2 separate regions of the Homo sapiens genome follow, and region 1 is linked to region 2. The links are contacts of gene promoters, found by promoter capture Hi-C in blood cells and fetal thymus (Javierre and others, 2016). All regions are on one chromosome and are shown on one strand. The core of a region is centred on a gene start or on the middle of the fragment in contact, and the rest is flanking DNA. Distances in the headings are between cores, read along the strand shown. Region 1 overlaps COBLL1 (cordon-bleu WH2 repeat protein like 1). Region 2 holds the start of SLC38A11 (solute carrier family 38 member 11).

Evidence for each region. Contacts are between HindIII fragments. The CHiCAGO score rates a contact against its expected background, and 5 or more counts as called.
Region 1: a contact is called between a fragment that was not itself captured here and the fragment with the promoter of SLC38A11 in region 2, in 1 of 17 cell types (total B cells). The highest score is 5.6, in total B cells.

What each region holds. Positions count from the first base shown.
Region 1 is chr2:164,692,457-164,697,381 of GRCh38, reverse strand. COBLL1 (cordon-bleu WH2 repeat protein like 1) reads left to right here. Exons shown (of 14, transcript NM_001365672.2): 12 at 1,546-3,113. Among named protein-coding and RNA genes, the nearest start is that of SNORA70F, 7.1 kb to the right of the region's middle. The HindIII fragment of the contact is 5,570 bases long and covers 1-4,205 here.
Region 2 is chr2:164,952,433-164,957,577 of GRCh38, reverse strand. It overlaps SLC38A11 (solute carrier family 38 member 11), which reads left to right and starts at 2,053. Exons shown (of 12, transcript NM_001351537.2): 1 at 2,053-2,369; 2 at 2,833-2,947; 3 at 4,797-4,871. The coding sequence starts at 2,331. The HindIII fragment of the contact is 8,780 bases long and covers 1-5,145 here.

The sequences.
Region 1 (4,925 bases), core at 171-2,670, 260 kb after region 2:
TTCCTAAGAACATGGGTCTTTAATTTTGTAAATCAAAATAGTTAATAATAATTGGTCATTGAGAAAAGAATTCACCTAAGTAGATGGTACGTATTCTGATACTCAGTTGCATTTTATCTGGGAAGAATAAAAATGAGTTCCATTTTAAAATTACATGTTTAATATAGGAATCTTGCAACACAATATAGAATATTAACTGCCACAACCAAATAACTGTGCAATCAGGCAGAGTTTAAAAATGTGAAGATATGTTTTTAAATTGTATACAAATTTACCTAACATGATATTTTTCTGCATGCATATCTTTTTTCTTTTTCTTTTTTTAAGAGAGAAACTATATAATATAGCTTATTACATTTTAGGCAGTGTACTTCATCTCATTCTTATAGGTAATAGTGGGTAATGATAAAACTATAGAGAAATAACTTGACATAATTTCACAGTTTGACCCCCAAGGCTCACATTTAACTTGTGCTGTGCAAACTATTGCCATATGTGAAAAGGCCACTAGGGTTTTGAAGATAAGCACAGTGATGGTGCAGGAAGCATGATTCTTCAGGGCATTTGAATAGAGGAGCAGAGGAATGACTTAATTCGGTACTGGGCACATGGTGCAGACTCCAAACCCTGTTTCCTTCCACATGCCTCCTGCCAGTGCTTTGCCATCATGTTGTTGACTGGAAGCTGTTGCTCTGTTAACCTAGACACTGGCAAATGAGTTTTGTTTTCAGGAGGTCTGAATTAGAATCAAGAGGAAAAGTAGTGCAAGGGAGAGGAAGGTTATTTTCTCTACTTTGATTTTGACTCTGACTGTAGAATAAGGATGCCTATTTCCAACAGAGAAAAATCAAAACCATTATGACTGATTTCATGTCATTGAAATCACCCATGTTATAACTAAAAATAAAGTCCTCTAACAGCCTTCAGCAAAGATACCTAGTTAACAAGACAATCAACTGAGATTCTGTTTTTACTATAAATCTTAATGTTTTCTGTTAAGGCCTTCATTAAAACTGCATTTGCTGGGATTCTTTTCCTTTTAATGTTAGGTATGAAAATATAAATATGCTAGGGGCTATAGAAAAGACAGTCAAAATAGAGGAAAAATACAGTTTTTGAATTTGTCAATTTCTATTTTTTGTCATGAACAATGACTGAATGACATCTTCTAAGAAGTAAAAACTTTATTTACCTTCTATGGAGTGTTTATTCTGGTCAATATACTAATGAGCATGCTATCTAAATGATACACATATAATATAAATATTTTCACCTTTTTATGTCTGAGCAAACTGAGGCTCAAAGGGGTTAATTAACATGTTGTGGCCACACTAGTTAAGCCAGGGATTCCAAACTTCAGTCTGTATGAATCCAAAGCACGTACTGTTTTCTCTGTATGCTACTACCTACCTTTATATAGTCAGTGAGTTGAAAATTATCTGTAGAATTCAAACCAAACTATTTCAGGTTGGAGAAAGTAGGCATTAAAAACTTGAGGTTTTCTACTTCTTTCATATATTTAACTTGATGATTTTTTTCTCTCAGTAGTTCAAAATGAAATAATTGTCTATCCAGAGAACACAGAAGACAATATGAAAAATGGAGTGAAGAAAACAGAAATCAATGTAGAAGGTGTTGCCAAAAATAACAACATTGATATGGAAGTTGAGAGACCATCAAACTCTGAGGCACATGAAACTGATACTGCTATAAGTTACAAGGAAAACCATCTAGCAGCTTCATCAGTACCAGATCAAAAACTGAATCAACCCAGTGCAGAAAAGACAAAAGATGCAGCAATTCAGACAACCCCTTCTTGTAACAGTTTTGATGGGAAACACCAAGATCATAATTTATCTGACTCCAAAGTTGAAGAATGTGTGCAAACTTCAAATAACAACATATCAACTCAACACTCATGCTTAAGTTCACAAGATTCTGTAAATACCTCAAGGGAATTCAGGAGTCAAGGCACCCTAATTATACATTCAGAAGATCCGCTTACCGTAAAAGATCCAATTTGTGCACATGGTAATGATGATCTTTTGCCTCCTGTAGATAGGATTGACAAAAATTCCACTGCTTCTTACCTAAAGAATTACCCACTTTATAGACAGGACTACAATCCCAAGCCAAAACCTTCAAATGAAATTACACGAGAGTATATACCCAAAATTGGCATGACTACTTATAAAATAGTGCCTCCCAAATCCTTGGAAATATCGAAAGACTGGCAATCAGAAACCATAGAGTATAAAGATGATCAGGACATGCATGCTTTAGGGAAAAAGCACACTCATGAGAATGTGAAAGAAACTGCCATCCAAACAGAAGATTCTGCTATTTCTGAAAGCCCAGAAGAGCCACTGCCAAACCTTAAACCGAAGCCTAACCTGAGAACAGAGCATCAAGTGCCCAGTTCTGTGAGCTCACCTGATGATGCCATGGTTAGTCCTCTGAAACCTGCTCCCAAAATGACAAGAGACACTGGCACAGCTCCTTTTGCACCAAATTTGGAAGAAATAAACAATATTTTGGAATCAAAATTTAAATCTCGGGCTTCAAATGCCCAGGCCAAACCCAGCTCTTTTTTTTTGCAGATGCAGAAGAGAGTATCGGGTCACTATGTGACATCTGCAGCTGCCAAGAGTGTCCATGCTGCCCCTAATCCTGCTCCAAAAGAACTGACAAATAAAGAGGCAGAAAGGGATATGCTGCCTTCTCCGGAGCAGACTCTTTCTCCCTTAAGTAAAATGCCTCACTCTGTTCCACAACCCCTTGTTGAAAAAACTGATGATGATGTCATCGGTCAGGCTCCTGCTGAAGCCTCCCCTCCTCCCATAGCTCCAAAACCTGTGACAATTCCTGCTAGTCAGGTATCCACACAAAATCTGAAGACTTTGAAAACTTTTGGTGCCCCACGACCATACTCAAGTTCTGGTCCTTCACCGTTTGCTCTTGCTGTAGTGAAAAGGTCACAGTCTTTCAGTAAAGAGCGCACCGAGTCACCTAGTGCCAGTGCATTGGTCCAACCTCCAGCCAACACAGAGGAAGGGAAGACTCATTCTGTAAATAAATTTGTGGACATCCCACAGCTTGGTGTGTCTGATAAGGTAACTGTAGCCTTTTTAAAAATAAGTATTCAAATTTAATGACATGGTTTAATGGGGGTTAACAAGCATGTTGATGTTTGTGTGCTACTTAACTCTGAACTCATATTCATCTGAAATTAAGCTATTGTAGTGAAGAGAGTGGTGATACATAAAATCTGATTATTTGCTCACAATTATAACTTATATAACTTGTTTAGGTATTACTGTAAGGTCATCATTATATAATTGTGTCATTAGCAAATGTTTTAAAGTTTCTTTGCTCATTTGTATGATATATTTACTAGTTAATGGTTCTATTTTCCTGTGTTATCTTAATTTGTTTTTAACTTGTCTAAATCTTCTGGTTTATTCTCCAATTTTACATTACTATGTAATAGTAAAGGAAATAGTCTTAATGAAATGGAAAAATAATAGTATGAGAGGCTAGACAAAATAACTGAGCATCTCTTAGCTATGTGATTTCCATCATATACACTCAACTTCAGCTTGCATATATTGTACATTTTCACATATAAATACATTGAAAGCAGAGTTTTAAAATGTAATTTTCTTAATTCCCCATTTTGTTAATTCAGTGTCAACTTTCAACTATAATATGTATGTTGACCAAACTGTTATCTAACCACTATCTAACCTTAAATATTTACCATAAAGGAATGTTGTTGACTTAGTGTTTGGTCAACTAAATGTTGTATTTTGCTAGCTTCAGATAATAGAGTCAAAGGAGAAGATGAAATTCACAGCATGATTTATGATAATCCTCATGCAATTTTAAAGAAATACTTTGTGTACTCTTACTCTGATAGTGTTTAAAGAATACATTCATATTTGTGTGACAGTTCCAGAAGTATTTAATATTACTTTTTCAAACATTCCTAGAGCAAAAGAATGTTAACCATATTGCCAAGTAAATATTTTTCCATAATTGTATAACAACATTTATCTTAATATTTTTCATGTATTTTACATTTATGTTTATTACTTTGATATAGCATCAGGAATAGAAGTATGATACAAAGATTAATTCTTTACTTGGGCACAAAGCCTGTGATTTTTCTTGGAATAGAATACCATTCCTAAACAATGGAAGCTTGGTTTAGATAATAAAGCTTTTAAGTCATTGCCTGAGCCCTGTTTGGCTCATTTTTTGGTAAAGATACGTATTTGGCAGTTTGAAAAAGACATTTAAGATTACTTGATAACATATGCCACTTACATCAGTTACTAAATATTCCTTCCTGAGAAGCGTAATTAAATTTTTTAGTCTTCAGTTTGGAAGTTCCTAATTTTTTATATTGATTCTCATGGCAAAAAATAAAACATGATTAGCACTTAGTCCATGTGACTTCCAGAAACACAAAATAAGCTACTAAGTGTAGCATAGTAATTAGTATTCCTTTATTAGAAGATATATTAGATTCAACAAATATGACATTGTCTATTTGACTGTTTTGCTCATTTAAAAATAGTAATTTCATAGCCTGGTATGTTGAAACCATGAAAATGGGTCATTTTTTAGTTTGCAGTATTTTTTAAAATCTTAATTTGGCTTTTCTAACCAGTTCTGTGTATTGGTGAAGTCAGCAGTATTTAACTCAAGAACAATAAAATTACCACTGTATTTATGAAGCAAAGAGTGGTACCACTTTTCTTCTTTGGCTTCCTGAGTTCAAGAGAGAATAATGCCCTCATCTTCCAGCTTAGCTCTGGCAGCAGAGATAATTCAGTGGGTGAGGAAACAGAGCTGTGTCTGAAACACCAGTGTGGCAAATGGTGATTGTTAAAGAACTATTGATGATGAAAATGTTTTGC
Region 2 (5,145 bases), core at 804-3,303:
AAATCCAGCAGAACAATTAAACTTAAAAAATAGATTAAGTAAGTCCTGGTGTTACAGACAATGTAGAAAAACAAGAATTTCACCTCTGTTGGTAGAAGTGAAATTCATGTTATCAATTTGCAAAGCAATTCAAAAATATTTAATGAAGGCCAGGCACAGTGGCTCACACCTGTAATCCCAGCACTTTGGGAGGCCGAGGAGGGTGGATCACCTGAGGTCAGGAGTTCAAGACCAGCCTGGCCAACATGGTGAAACCCCATCTCTACTAAAAATACAAAAACTTAGCCGGGCGTGGTGGCAGGCACCTGTATTCCCAGCTACTCCTGAGGCTGAGGCAAGAGAATCATTTGAACCCAGGAGGCAGAAGTTACAGTAAGCCCAGGTCACACCATTGCACTCCAGCCTGGGCAACAAAAGCGAAACTCCATCTCAATAATAATAATAATGATAATGAAGTTGAAAGTGTGCATGACCTACTACCTAACACTTCTACATCTAGAGAAATTGTCACTTTTATGCTCTGGAAGAGTGTAAAACGAGAAACAACCTTAATATCTTTCAGTAGGGGAAGGCTGACTTAACTGTTAGATAAAATGAAAAAAAAATCTGCATATATCTACATCATACATGCTGAAAACAAAAATGCCAGTGGAAAAATAACATGTACAATATGGCACCATCTTTGTAAATGTTGAAAATACAAAAGCCAATGTTATATATTGTTTATGGCTATAAATGAACGGATTAAAATACAAAGTATGAATAGCAAAGATAACACTAACTTGATGAACCGATGACTCCAGGGCTGAAGGCCTGGGGAAAGGAATGGAGAAGGTCAAGGGGGTTCCTATTGTGACATTGTGTTTACTTTTACAATTTGAAGAAAATATGACAGCATGTTAACATTTGATGGCAGAGTGTATATAAAGTTTATAAGTCTTTTGTTTTCCCACGGTTTTTAATTTTTTTTCTTAATTATAAGTAAACATGTATGAAACAGAACCTCTTTAATTAGGTACAGTTGGCCTCTATATCCCCACTTCTGCATCCATGCATTAAACCAATCCCAGATCAAAAATGTAGTTAGGGCTAGGATGGATGTGTCTATACTGAACACATATGGACTTTTTTCTTATTTCCTAAACAATACAGTATAACAACAAGTAAATAGCATTTACATTGTATTAGGTATTATAAATAATCTAGAGATGATTTAAAGTATGCTGGAGGATGTGCCTAGGTTACATGTAAATACCATGCTGTTTACTATCAAGGACCTGAGCATTCCTGGATTTCAGTATCTGCAGGGGTTCCAGAACCAATCCCCTATGGATATCAAGGGAAGGCAGAATTTGTTAAGTATGATGGCATATCACCGCTCTTATTGCCCCTGAAACTGTTGTCTCATGCATTCTGTCTCTGATATTGAATACTCTCTGGGCTTGTTGCTTCATCTGTAATGTAAGAGGACTGAATAGGTGGTCATTGAAGATTCTTTCTAGCTCAGGCACTGTAGGTGCCACCCCTTTCCCAAACCCTTGTACTCCTCTTTCCCTTTTCAAGGTTCATTACCTGAATGCAGTAACAATCCACCTTCATTTTCTCTATCGCTCCTTTTTCTAAAAGTTACCAGGAAGCGTTTGACCAAAGCATGCTCAGTAGTCAAGTTTGCTAAAACCCTAGGAAAGTTTTTTGTTTTGCTATTCATTTTCTTATGAGTCTTTCCATTTCCATTTACAATAAAAGTCCCAAATTTTCACTCGTCGTCTCTGCCATTGAAGAGGGGTAGCGAGGAGGAGGTGCTAATAGGGAAGATGGCCCATGGGCCCAAGGGTGCTTCTGCGTTCTTACCTGGGCTTCAGACCCCAGCAAAGGAGAAGCTAACTTAGGAACGGACTGCAACGAGGCGGTCATAACTCTGTGAGATCGGGGCAGGGCAGCGTGGGTGGAACAAGTTGTCCTCTGCAGCTCCAGGGAAGAGTAGCTCTCCCTGTTCTCTCAGGGAGGCGGGGGTGTGAAGGGGGGAGGCGGGGAGACAGGGCTGCCCGGATCAGAAACATCCTGCAGCATCTCCGTCTCCGGAGGAAAAATACATTTGTCTGGGCGAACTCCGGTGGAAAAGCGCCCCAGGCTGCCACAGCCTAGAGATCTTGGGGCTGCAGCCCTCGCGGCCTGCCGAGGGAGCAGGGGGCGCCCGTGGAACTGGCTCCCTGCAGCTCTGCGGCTACACGCGGACCTCGGCTGTGTGCGAGGTGGCGGAGGAGGCTGGCCGGGTGCGAATCCGTACCCAGCCCCAGCATCTTCCACCTGCTGAGGACCACCGCTCAGCCATGGGCTACCAGAGGCAGGAGCCTGTCATCCCGCCGCAGGTAAAACTAGCGACTAGGCAGGTTCTGAAGCCAGTTGTCCGGAAATTTCATTCACCTTGCAACAGGTCAGGTCACCTACCTTCACCTGGGCTCTTGGTTTAGCACCGCGAAAAGTTCTCTGGGACAAAAAGTTTTGCCTTAATCTGACTTTTTTTTTTTTTTTTCTTAGCAGGCACTTTAATTTCACAAAATCACATCACTGAATTCCTAACAGATCCTGTACTTAGCAGCTGGGGCAGCTGTAATCTGGAAATTTTAGGATGGAGTTTGCTTACCAAGCTCTGTTGAATTACTAGCTGTTATTGTTATTCTTTATTACTGTTATCCCGGCATTTATTTTATTTTCATTAGTGACATTACTTATTATTACTAGAAAATCGTGTTAGTATCCTGCATTACATATTTGTTACTTTTCTAATTTTCTGAACTAGTATTTGCTTATAATTGCTATTTTATCTATTAGAGAGATTTAGATGACAGAGAAACCCTTGTTTCTGAACATGAGTATAAAGAGAAAACCTGTCAGTCTGCTGCTCTTTTTAATGTTGTCAACTCGATTATAGGATCTGGTATAATAGGTAAGTGTATTTGCTTTGGTTTAAATTTTAAGTGAAAGGGCAAAATTTAAGACTCGCTACGCTGCTAGTGTTCATTAATTATTTTTAAAGAAAAAAAGACTTAAATAAGAAAATTGGTAATTTTCTTCCATAAAAGGCTTCCTTTTTTTCTAGTGTAACAGTATGTATGCATGTCTTTTATGCTGAAGATGGGGCTGTAATTCACACTGTTTCCACAGTTGAGAGCATCTTCCACATGTGGTAGATTAAGGTGAAACTGCATATGGGTGGTGGTGAATCATTTTTCTGTAGGCTGCGTGGTTGATTGCTAGTGTTACCGAATGTACTTTTTCCACTTACTGAAGGGTCCATCATTATTTGAATCATCTTTCTTTAACTTTCTAGAAGTATAAAACTTCCAGATATTTGTAAATGTTGGAGGTGAAAAGTTTAATATGAAAACATACCAATCTTATGAAAAATTAAATTCATACATTCTTTACCTATCTATACAGTGTTAAATTTTAAAGTACAAAATTATTACAATATATTAATTTTAAATATTATTTAGTCAACAATGCAAATTTGTTCATTGAAAATGCGTATTATTTTCCTAATAAAGGAGCCATACAATCAGAATTAAAATAAATAAATAGCTCAGATTTTTCCATTGTATTAGAAGCAAGGGAAATTTACTGAAAAAAGTTAAAAGTGCATTGCATTATAGTAATAAAAGCAGCTATATTTTCAGTGGTTATTATTCTTTTTGGTATCTGAAAACACTCTATCTCAGAAAAGACAAGAAGAAAACAAAATCCTGCAAAATGCAATACTTTTTGAGAATACAATGTTTTATAAAGTTGCAACATTTTTGTTTCTGTCATCACCTTCTGAAAATTAAACATTTATCTGGATTGAGTTACTTTTCTTACTCTTGAATTACTTTTCTTACTTTTCACAAGTTAATATGGTTCTTGATTTTACATTTTTCTATGGATAGTCTTTTTTTTTTCTCCAAATGATACATAAAATGGAGTTACCTGAGGTAAAGTAGAAGGAAACAGGGACAAAGACTTGTTTACAATTCTACCTCCATGTACCATGAAGGTATGAGCAGCTGTACTTAGAAGAATTCTAGAGCTAATTCCTGATGTGAACGTGTTAAGTTAAGCCGTGTCAGCAATGCTAAACAGTACCACTGCTCAGCAGCTTGTTTTCTTTTCTTTAAGGGAAAACTTTTCAGAGAATAAAAATTTTGACTGGAAATACGTTAACTGTGTTTGTTTTAAATATTTTATTGTCCATAATCTAAAGTTGTCAATTTCCCCCAAAATTATAAGAAATAATTTATGTACCCCTTTGAGCATTATAAAAAATACTTTCGCCTTCTCATTTTTCTCTCATTTTTTTCCTACATAGTAGCCCCATTTTGACTCCAGAGTCTGTCTTTCTTAATATTCCATAACCCTTCTGTGCTCCTTATTATCCTCTCTGCTTTCTTGGCTAGCAGGTAAGGAAGGATTTGAGGTAATGACTTTCCACATATTGCAGGGCTATGTCACTCTTACCCTGAAGTAAACGTTATTTGTGTGAACTGGCATTTGTTTTTCATTTGCTGCTTTCTAATTCTTATTCCGTCACCTCAGAAACTTGCTCTCTTAACTTGTCCCTAAGCTAATAACATTTTATTCTGAAATAAGTATTAATACCTAACATTTAATATTAATTCTGTCCTATGTGCAACTTACAAATACGTCATATAAGTATATAAATTGACTTTACCTATTATATGCAGAAATTGAAGGGGGGAATTTCTGTGTTTCTAGCTTTCTTGTTAATGTGAAGGGTGGGGCATTTTATGTTTTTTCAGGATTGCCTTATTCAATGAAGCAAGCTGGGTTTCCTTTGGGAATATTGCTTTTATTCTGGGTTTCATATGTTACAGGTAAAATACTATATAATTTCTTATTTCTGCAACTTCAACTGTGCAATAACTACACACATACACACACACACACACACATGCTGCAACTGAATTTCCTAGTTAATTAAAAAGTGCATCAAAGAATCCTAAAGAATTTAAGCATTTATGCCTGAGGAGATTTACTTTTCTTACTAATCCTTTAAACAGATTAGAAAAAGTAGAAAAGCATTATATATTACCAAGCCTAAATCCTTTTCATGTGCCTTTTTCACTTTTTGCAGAAAGTAGTAGATGG